2 separate regions of the Homo sapiens genome follow, and region 1 is linked to region 2. Evidence: promoter capture Hi-C in 16 types of primary human blood cells and fetal thymus (Javierre and others, 2016). All regions are on one chromosome and are shown on one strand. Each heading gives the region's core, a stretch centred on a gene start or on the middle of the fragment in contact. The rest is flanking DNA. Distances are from core to core; before and after follow the strand shown.

Evidence for each region. Contacts are between HindIII fragments. The CHiCAGO score rates a contact against its expected background, and 5 or more counts as called.
Region 1: a fragment that was not itself captured here is called in contact with the fragment with the promoter of OSGEP in region 2 in 1 of 17 cell types (M0 macrophages); the score reaches 7.3 in M0 macrophages.

What each region holds. Positions count from the first base shown.
Region 1 is chr14:24,422,734-24,427,408 of GRCh38, reverse strand. CBLN3 (cerebellin 3 precursor) reads left to right here. Exons shown (of 3, transcript NM_001039771.3): 3 at 1-864. It also overlaps a transcript of KHNYN not described here. Among named protein-coding and RNA genes, the nearest start is that of CBLN3, 4.6 kb to the left of the region's middle. The HindIII fragment of the contact is 1,325 bases long and covers 2,003-3,327 here.
Region 2 is chr14:20,452,870-20,457,753 of GRCh38, reverse strand. It overlaps OSGEP (O-sialoglycoprotein endopeptidase), which reads left to right and starts at 2,942. Exons shown (of 11, transcript NM_017807.4): 1 at 2,942-3,185. The coding sequence starts at 3,071. APEX1 (apurinic/apyrimidinic endodeoxyribonuclease 1) reads right to left here and starts at 2,528. Exons shown (of 5, transcript NM_001641.4): 1 at 2,360-2,528; 2 at 2,051-2,176; 3 at 1,653-1,840; 4 at 894-1,086; 5 at 1-763. The coding sequence starts at 2,108. The coding sequence ends at 246. It overlaps PIP4P1 (phosphatidylinositol-4,5-bisphosphate 4-phosphatase 1), which reads left to right. Exons shown (of 7, transcript NM_144568.4): 7 at 1-73. RefSeq lists silencers at 370-664, 4,292-4,884, enhancers at 2,265-2,484, 2,905-2,994, cis regulatory regions at 2,546-2,551, 2,567-2,572, 2,585-2,617, 2,628-2,633, 2,630-2,671 and 2 more and promoters at 2,419-2,753, 2,418-2,955, 2,585-3,029. The HindIII fragment of the contact is 3,687 bases long and covers 2,423-4,884 here.

The sequences.
Region 1 (4,675 bases), core at 1,416-3,915, 4.0 Mb before region 2:
GGCCCCCACAGGAGCCCAGATGGACAAGCCTCAGCGTACCCTGCAGGCTTCTTCCTGTGAGGAAAGCCAGCATCACGGATCTCAGCCAGCACCGTCAGAAGCTGAACCAGCACCGTATGGGCTAGGGTGGGAGGCTCAGCCACAGGCAGAAGGGTGGGAAGGGCCTGGAGTCTGTGGCTGGTGAGGAAGGAAGGAGGGTGTATTGTCTAGACTGAACATGGTACACATTCTGCATGTATAGCAGAGCAGCCAGCAGGTAGCAATCCTGGCTGTCCTTCTATGCTGGATCCCAGATGGACTCTGGCCCTTACCTCCCCACCTGAGATTAGGGTGAGTGTGTTTGCTCTGGCTGAGAGCAGAGCTGAGAGCAGGTATACAGAGCTGGAAGTGGACCATGGAAAACATCGATAACCATGCATCCTCTTGCTTGGCCACCTCCTGAAACTGCTCCACCTTTGAAGTTTGAACTTTAGTCCCTCCACACTCTGACTGCTGCCTCCTTCCTCCCAGCTCTCTCACTGAGTTATCTTCACTGTACCTGTTCCAGCATATCCCCACTATCTCTCTTTCTCCTGATCTGTGCTGTCTTATTCTCCTCCTTAGGCTTCCTATTACCTGGGATTCCATGATTCATTCCTTCAGACCCTCTCCTGCCAGTATGCTAAACCCTCCCTCTCTCTTTCTTATCCCGCTGTCCCATTGGCCCAGCCTGGATGAATCTATCAATAAAACAACTAGAGAATGGTGGTCAGTGAGACACTATAGAATTACTAAGGAGAAGATGCCTCTGGAGTTTGGATCGGGTGTTACAGGTACAAGTAGGTATGTTGCAGAGGAAAATAAATATCAAACTGTATACTAAAATTACATTTTAAAAGTTGAATAATGTTTGAGTTAAATAGGAAATACCAAGGTGAATTTGTGGTTTTGAAAAGAAATAACTTTTTGAACTGTCACTAATCCTAAAAACAACATCAGGAACAATCTGATATCCATTCTTAGAAACTGGATCTTTGCTTCAGATATTAGTCACCATTAAAAAAAAATACCAAAAACCCTCAGGTTCCTTGGAGAATAGCTGCACACCTTAAGTAACTCCAGGCCCAGAACATGTTGTTGATGACAGAAAGCAAAGATACTTTTTAAATGTATAAAGTAAAGCTGAAAAGGCAAAGGAATCAATTTAAAGAAGCTCCCACTTGACATGCTTTGACAATTTGATTATCAAAAGGAAAATAATACAGTTAATTGGAACAAGGTGAATTTTTTAAATCCATGTACCTGCAATGATATTCAAAAAGGAAGAAGTCACTATAAAGTGTGACAAAAAGTAGTTAATATGCTGAGTGAAGAAGAGTGAATATAGGCTATTTTTAGTGAGTCGTGATAAGTACAAGAACATAAATATAGTAGGCATTTTGTCTATTTGCAAGGTACATTTGTTTTTCTTTATCTATGTAAGTAGGGAGGGGTGAGTACAGAGAACTGTGAATAATTCCAAGAAGATCTGGCACTGTGCCAAGAATGAAAGATACTGGTGGAACTATTTGAGTATATTTTGCAACTAAGAAGAAAAACAGTCCAATGGCGTGTTATAAGACAATGGATTAGTCAGATGTCCAAAAGACAACTGTTCACTGCTCAGGCTTGATCGTTCATCTCCTAGAAAATGGATCCTCTGTATTACCCCACTAATTATAATGAGATATTAATTAGGCAAAATGATTAAGAGTAGGTTTGGCTGTAACAGTAAAACCCAAAATAAGAATAGCTTAAACAAAATAGGAAATCATTTTTGTCTCACATAGAAAAATCTGTAAATAAGAGTCCAGGGATGGATGGCAGCCTTATGATCATTTGAAAGCCCAGTCTTCTGTCTTGTTCTACCATCCTTAGCTTGCCACCTCATGACCCAAGACGGCTCCCTGAGCTCCAGACATTACATCAGCCTAACAGGAAGGAGGAAGGAAGAAACAACACATCTCTTTCCTTGAAAGAAGCTTTCTGAAATATGCACCAATATTTCTGATTGTGTCTCAGTAGAATTTAGTCACCCGGGCTCACCAAGCCAGGGAGCTTGGCTAGGAGCTACAGTGTTTATTCCAGGCAGCCATGTCCAGCCAGAAGTTGGGAGTTTTATAACAAGGAAGAAGGGGAAATTAGCTATTGGGGAAGACAACTAGAAGTTGTTTTTTATTGTTGTTTTTTGAGGCAGAGTCATGCTCTGTCGACCAGGCCGGAGTGCAGTGGTGCAATTTCAGCTCACTGCAACCTCCACCTCCTGGGTTCAAGCAATGCTCATGCCTCAGCCTCCCGAGTAGCTGGGATTACAGGTGCGAGCCACCACACCCAGCTAATTTTTTGTATTTTTAGTAAAGATGGGGTTTCGCCATGTTGTCCAGGCTGGTATCAAACTCCTGGCCTCACGTGATCTGATTACAGGTGTGAGCTACCACATCTGGCCACAAAGTACTACCAACTTGGTGGCTTAAAACAACTGTTTATTACCTCACAGTTTCTGTGGGTCAGAAGTCCAACAAAACGTGACTGGCTTCTCTGCTCAGGGTTTCACAAGATCAAAAGCAAAGTATAAGCAGGGCAGCCTTCCTTACTGGAGGGGAAGAATCCACTTCTAAACTCATTTAAAGTTCAGTTCCTTACGGTTGTAGGACTTAGGTCCTAGCCCCCTCCATTCTCAAGCCAACAACTGCAAGCCAAGTCCTTCTCACACTTTAAATCTCTCAGGCCTACCTTTCTACCACATCTCTCTGACTTCAGTGTAGAAAGTTCTCTGAGTTTAGGGACTCGTGTGATTAGGCCCACCCAGATAAGCCAGGATAATCTCCCTATTTTAAGGTCCACAACCTGAATTGCATATTTGAAGTTCGTTTTGCCATGTAACATAACATATTCACAGGTTCCAGGGATTAAGGCATGGACATCTTCAGGACATCTGCATATCAGAGTCACTAAACTCAAAGATGGCATCATGTAGAGAAAAGGCATGCAGCTACAATACCACTGCATGGAAAACGTATGGGCTTGAAAATTTCCCATGATATATACAAGATAAATACCAGCTCAGATTTTAATCATTTTAGAAGGTGAACCAATTCCCAGGTCCCAACCAAAAATTCATTGATTAATAATCCAAAACTTGATCTACATTGAGATATATTTTTATTTTAGATATCTAAATTCAAAAATTGCCCTGAGCTGAGATAATGTCTCTCAGGTCTACCACCCATTTTTATAGTGGATTTAAGCATAGGTGTTATAAACTTTATAATCCTTATAATGGTATGTGTCCCTTACCAAAATGAAGCTTTTAGAGAAACTGACATATTAGTGATTCAGTTGAAATATTTAGGAGGATTTGATTGTTTTTAATCAACGTTTAAATCATTTAACTTGTTAAATGTATAGATTTTGATTTGCTGGTTATAGAAATCGTGTTCAAATATTTAGACAATTTTTCCTTCAGTAGGTTTGTGAATAGATTAAACAATAAATAAAGCACAGGTGATGGTGTGTGGTCCTCTCCAGGTACCAAAAGCTCCTCAGACTTTAAGGATCCTAACAACAGACTCCAACTATTCACCTTCCCTATGCCCATGCCCTGGCAGCTGATTCCTACAGAGAAGTCCCACTGATGAAGGATTCAATGTGGATCTAAATCCATGGCCTCCAGCCACATCTGGTCCTCAATCCTATAATCCTCAATCCTCTAACTCTTCACTGGTTTCCTTTGCCAGCTGCCCCTCATCTTCCCCAGAATCCACTGCCAGCTTCTGTTCCCTCCTTAAGCCTTTTGCCCCACCAGTTCTGCTCCCATGGCCCATGGTCAGCGGCAGACAGCCTCACCTTCCACCTCACTGAGAACACAGAAACTCCAAGCAGGACCCTGCCCACCACCACACTTACAAACTCACCTTCCTCCCCATCTCTGCTTCCTCCTGCCTGTCTCGGTGGGAGACGAGTTCCTCCTCCTGTCAAGGCTGCTATCCTCATCCACCAGTCTTGGATCCAGTTTCCTCCAGACATCCTGTCATCTGTCACTCTCCTTTCTACTCACTCCTTCCCTTCAGCAGCTCTTAAAGTTTAGGAGCTCAAGTCTCTTAAATCTAAGAGAAGATAGGCATGGAAGTAGTTGTAGATATAGGTATAGTTATCCTCAGCTCTATCTATTCCTGCAGGTAGTTGGCGTCAGCTCATCTCCTCCTTAAAGCAAAATATTGTAGTACAAATGTCTACACTCTCGATTTGCACACCTCGTAATCACCGGTGAACTATGGCCTCCACTGCTCCACCTGAACTGCCCTCAGCCATGGCTCATAACTTCCGTGTTACTGAAGCTGGTGAACACTTCCTAGTCCTCCTGTCACTCAGTCTGTCTCTAACATTTGACCCTGCTGACTATACCCTCCTTCTAGAAGCACTCTGCCCCGACTTCCCTGACTGTACGCTCCCTGGTTTTCCTCCACCTCTCTGCCTGTGCCCTGCATCTCTTAAGTGCTGATTTTCATCAAGGTTCTGCCCTAGCATTCTTTGGTCCTAAGACACTCTCAAAGGCACAAATGACCATCCATATGCTGACAATGTTATCTCTATCCAGGATCGCCCTTTCTGAAACTCAGACTCATACATTGAATATTCCACTTTCAAGTCTACACGC
Region 2 (4,884 bases), core at 1,693-4,192:
TTTATTTTCATGTGGATAATTCAAACAAAGTCATTAGTAGTCTTTGTTCAATTTTTTTTTAAAAAACAAAAAACCCTCAAATAAAAAATCTTGGGCTTAAAAGAACTCTATCACAGGAGCCTGGTTGGAGGATTCCTAGTTTTATACATGAGAAATAGAATGCAGATTTCTCTGAAGAGTGTTTAAAGAAGGAATGGTAGTTGAGGGGGCTTATTTCCCAGGCTCAAAGTGATTTAGGGGTGGTGTCACAGTGCTAGGTATAGGGTGATAGGACAGTGATCACTGCCGAGGGCCTTGGAACGGATCTTGCTGTCACACAATGCAGGTAACAGAGAGTGGGACAACAAAAAGTAATCAAGGCGCCAACCAACATTCTTGGATCGAGCATTCATCATATAAGTCCAAAAGGTGTAGGCATAGGGTGTGTTGGGGTAGAGGTGCCTAAAGCTGTCAGCCAGTGGCACAGCCTGCAGTAATTCCCCGAAGCCTTGGCGCTCTTGTGGCGTGAAGCCAGCATTCTTTTTGTTCCCCTTGGGGTTGCGAAGGTCAATTTCTTCATGTGCCACATTGAGGTCTCCACACAGCACAAGGGGCTTTCGGGAAGCCAGGCCCTTCAGGAACTTGCGAAAGGCTTCATCCCAGCGCTGCCGGTACTCCAGTCGTACCAGACCTCGGCCTGCATTAGGTACATATGCTGTTACCAGCACAAACGAGTCAAATTCAGCCACAATCACCCGGCCTTCCTGATCATGCTCCTCATCGCCTATAGAAATGAAACAGAATTAGCATAAAAAACTATAAGAAAAGGGAAAGCAATCAAGAGGTGGGGCAGAGATAGAGAATTAGCAATTGGTTTTGAAGAGTTCAGGCATTAGGCATCAATAGGGTCTCACCTATGCCGTAAGAAACTTTGAGTGGGCACTGGCGGGAAAGCAGGCCCACGCCACTGTACCCTTCCTTGTCCGAAGGAGCTGACCAGTATTGATGAGAGAGTCCAGGCAGCTCCTGAAGTTCAGCTGGTAGTTTGTTCTCTGAACATTTGGTCTCTTGAAGGCACAGTATATCTGGGGCTTCTTCCTTTACCCACTGTAAGTGAAAAGAAAGGTGGAAAACGTATTATCAATTCAGCAGAACATTTATTGAATAATCTATATGCTAAGTCATAGATACGCACGGGTTAAACAGTCTCTTGGCCTAAGGAGTTCGAGTCAAGCAGCACAATATTCAAACAATTCTAAGCTAGATAAATGAAAACAAATATAGAGAGGTAAGAAAGTCTTACATGCTATGCCAAGGAGATGTGTTTTTTCTATAGGCAGTGGATAGCAAGCTAAGATTTTTAAGCTATGGTTAATGGAATGGAGGACATGCTTCATATGGAATGCAATGCAGGAAGATAAAATGGAGGAAGTATAGTGAAGAGGTTTTTGCAACATTCTGGGAAGAGGAGAGAACACTAAAAAAGAAAATGGCAATGGAAGTGAAGGAACAGACATTTAGGAAATACAACTGGCAAGACTGGGGAAGCCCCACAGAAAACTACGGGCAGGAGAAAAATAAAACAGCCTGAAGGCTAAACGGAGAAAAGGGGTGACTAAACCCTAAGACCATTCAATACTAAAAAATGTCTCTTTCCCTCAAATTCCACTCACATCTAATCCTTTCTTCTTAATCCAGGCTCGAAGCCCATCCACATTCCAAGAGCAGATCTTGAGTGTGGCAGGTTTGCCACTGGGTGAGGTTTTCTGATCTGGGGGGTCCTCATACAGGGCTGGGCCCTCTCCTGCTGCCTCTTTGTCATTTTTCTTTGCGGCCGTCTTACTCTTCTTGGCCTCTGGCTCTATAAAATGAGTAATATATACTGACAAAAAGCTGGTGGTTTCCAACTGCGATCCGGCGTTAACTATAGACCCAACGAAAGCCTACGGTTCCTGCGACTTCTTCACAAACCCCTGCAAAAATGAGTCGGCCCGTACTTACCGTACATCAAGGGAATGACAAACACCCCCGCCGCAGCTTCTAGGAAGAAGGGCTGATTTCATTCCCTTACCTGTCCTGAGCTCATCCCCGTCTTCCGCCACCGCTCCCTTTTTCCCACGCTTCGGCATTCCCGTTACGAACGCCCTTGGGCAGCTGTACCGCGTCACCCACCGAAGCAATATTTTTACCGCGTTGCCTACAGACGCAAAGAAATCATGAAACCAGCTAAGGCTGGGGAGAAGACTCCTCCCAAGAGCGTCCCCGCACCAGGTCCCGCCTTTCAAACCACGTTATCTCTAAATCCTTTCCCCGCCTCCGTGCATCATAGGCCCTTCAGCCCCTCACCCACGAAACTAGATCATTTCATAGTGCCTTGTACCCTACTCGCGAGATCTGCCCTCCAGCCAATTGAGGATCTTAATTAAGGGTCCTGACTCAAGCTTGCCGTTCAGACTGCCAGCGAAGCCCCTCTTATGAGCAAAAGAGCAACCCCGTATCTGCACCGGCCCGATGGCAGCCTAGCTCCTCCTAACCCGAGCACAAAGAAGGGTGCACGCTGAGCCCCCACGTGGGTAGCGGACCTGGTCACGTGATCAGAGGCGCGCTTGTCGTGGCCGAAGAATGCGCGTGATTGGTCTGTCTGACACCACGTGACGGAGACGCTTAGCCTCGCCTCCCTCCTCTAATTCTCTAGGACACTTAGGTCCCCAACCCTCCCTCGGGCTGTTTATCGTTGTGCCAGATGCACAGCACATTGTGTGACACTGACTTAAGATTCTAACTATGTGCAAGAGGGAAAAAAACAGTGGAGAAGGCTGGGCTGGACCACGGGAAAGAGATAGGAAAACGGATACGAATGTAAGGCACAGAGTTGGCTCGGCGTCCCTGGCAGTTAGGAAGACAGGTCCCTGGAGGGGCCTTGGCGGGTCTCCGCTCGCGGGAGTTCCGCGGTGTCTTTCCCAGTGCTATCTGCAGGCTGGCCAGCTTCCTCTGCGCTCCGGAAAGCTGCGGCCCAGCGCGGACTAGTGAGGACCTCCACAGCTCCTGACATTGCCAGGAGTCCTGTCGGCGTTTTCTCCCAGCCTCCGCCATGCCGGCGGTGCTGGGTTTTGAAGGCAGCGCCAATAAGATTGGCGTGGGCGTGGTGCGGGATGGCAAGGTGCTGGCGAACCCGCGGCGGACTTACGTCACGCCTCCTGGCACAGGTTGGTGAGTAGGGGACTTAAGAGTTTTCCGCGCACTTCCCCGCACAGAATCAGCCTTCCATCTTCCTAAATACTAGTGAGGTGCAGCTTTCGATCCGAGTCTCATTGAAATTATGTGACATTATTAACGTCACAAGGCTGATGACTAGAAGAGTTACAGGCACTTGGACGTGGATCTGATGAGTTCATTTACCTTTTACTGAGCGCATTTTATGTGCTAAGTATTCAGAAATAGATGTTATACTGCTGTGGAGTCAGACATATAAATAGATGTTTATACTACAGCATGATAAACAGTATAATAGAGATGGACTCGAAATATTCTGTTTAAAAAACGCTTAGCAGGAGTATAGATTCCAGTTGCCCTGAATATACACTCCCTTTTTAAAAAAAAATTATTTTTTGAAATATTCTAGGATGAGTAGAGAGATGAGAGTGGAAAGACTCCCGGCTTACATGTCAGACAGAACTGGCTGGCTTTGCTATATTCATATTAAATATTTTTGTTTTGGACATTTGGTCTTTATTTTTTATTTTATTTTATTTTTTTGAGACAGAGTCTTGCTCTGTCGCCCAGGCTGGAATGCAGTGGCACGATCTCGGCTCACTGCAATCTCTGCCTTCCAGGTTCAAGCGATTCTTCTACCCCAGCCTCCCAAGTAGCTAGGACTATAGGTGTGCGCCACCACATCCAGCTAAATTTTGTATTTTTAGTAGAGTCGGGGTTTCCACCAGGCCAAGCTGGTCTCGAACTCCTGACCTCAGATGATCCGCCCACCCCAGCCTCCCAAAGTGTGGAAATTACAGGCATGAGCCACCGCTCGGGCCTGGTCTTTGTTTTTAAAATGGGAATAATACCTGTATCATTAGGTCTTGAAGATTAGATGAAAGTACCAAACACGGCTGGGCGTGGTGGCTCACGCCTGTAATCCCAGCACTTTGGGAGGCCAAGGCAGGCAGATCACCTGAGGTCGGGGTTCGAGACCAGCCTGACCAACATGGAGAAACCATGTTTCCACTAAAAAATACAAAAAATTAACTGGGCGTGGTGGCGCATGCCTGTAAACCCAGCTACTTGGGAGGCTGAGGCAGGAGAATTGCGTGAACCCGGGAGACAGAGGTTGCAGTGAGCCGAGATGGTGCCATTGCACTCCAGCCTGGGCATCAAGAGTGAAACTCTGTCTCAAAAAAAAAAAAAGTACAAAACACATTACAACTTTTAATTGATATTTTAAATAAGCTATTATATCTTGCTACTCTCCCCTCAAACACTTGCATACATAGGAGAGGGCAGCTGACTTGCATGTATCTGAAAAGCCTCCCTGAACAGGTGATGTTGTGACAGATACTCACTAGAAATATATATGTATGTTTAGCATTCACTCCTCTGGGCACTTGGGCACTGGGAATACAAAGATAAATAAAATACTCAATGCTTTGAGATATTCATGATTAAGCTGAGCAAACCACAGAAAATTATAATGCTGTAATTGTTATGTTAAATAAATGACATCATCATGCATAGAGTTCTGTAGGGTCACAGAGAAAGAAGATCACCAAAGGCCAGGCACGGTGGCTCAGGCCTGTAATCCCAGCACTTTGGGAGGCCGAGGCAGACGGATCACGAGGTCAGGAGTTCGAGACCAGCCTGGCCAATATGGTGAAACCCCGTCTCTACTAAAAATACAAAAGTTAGCTG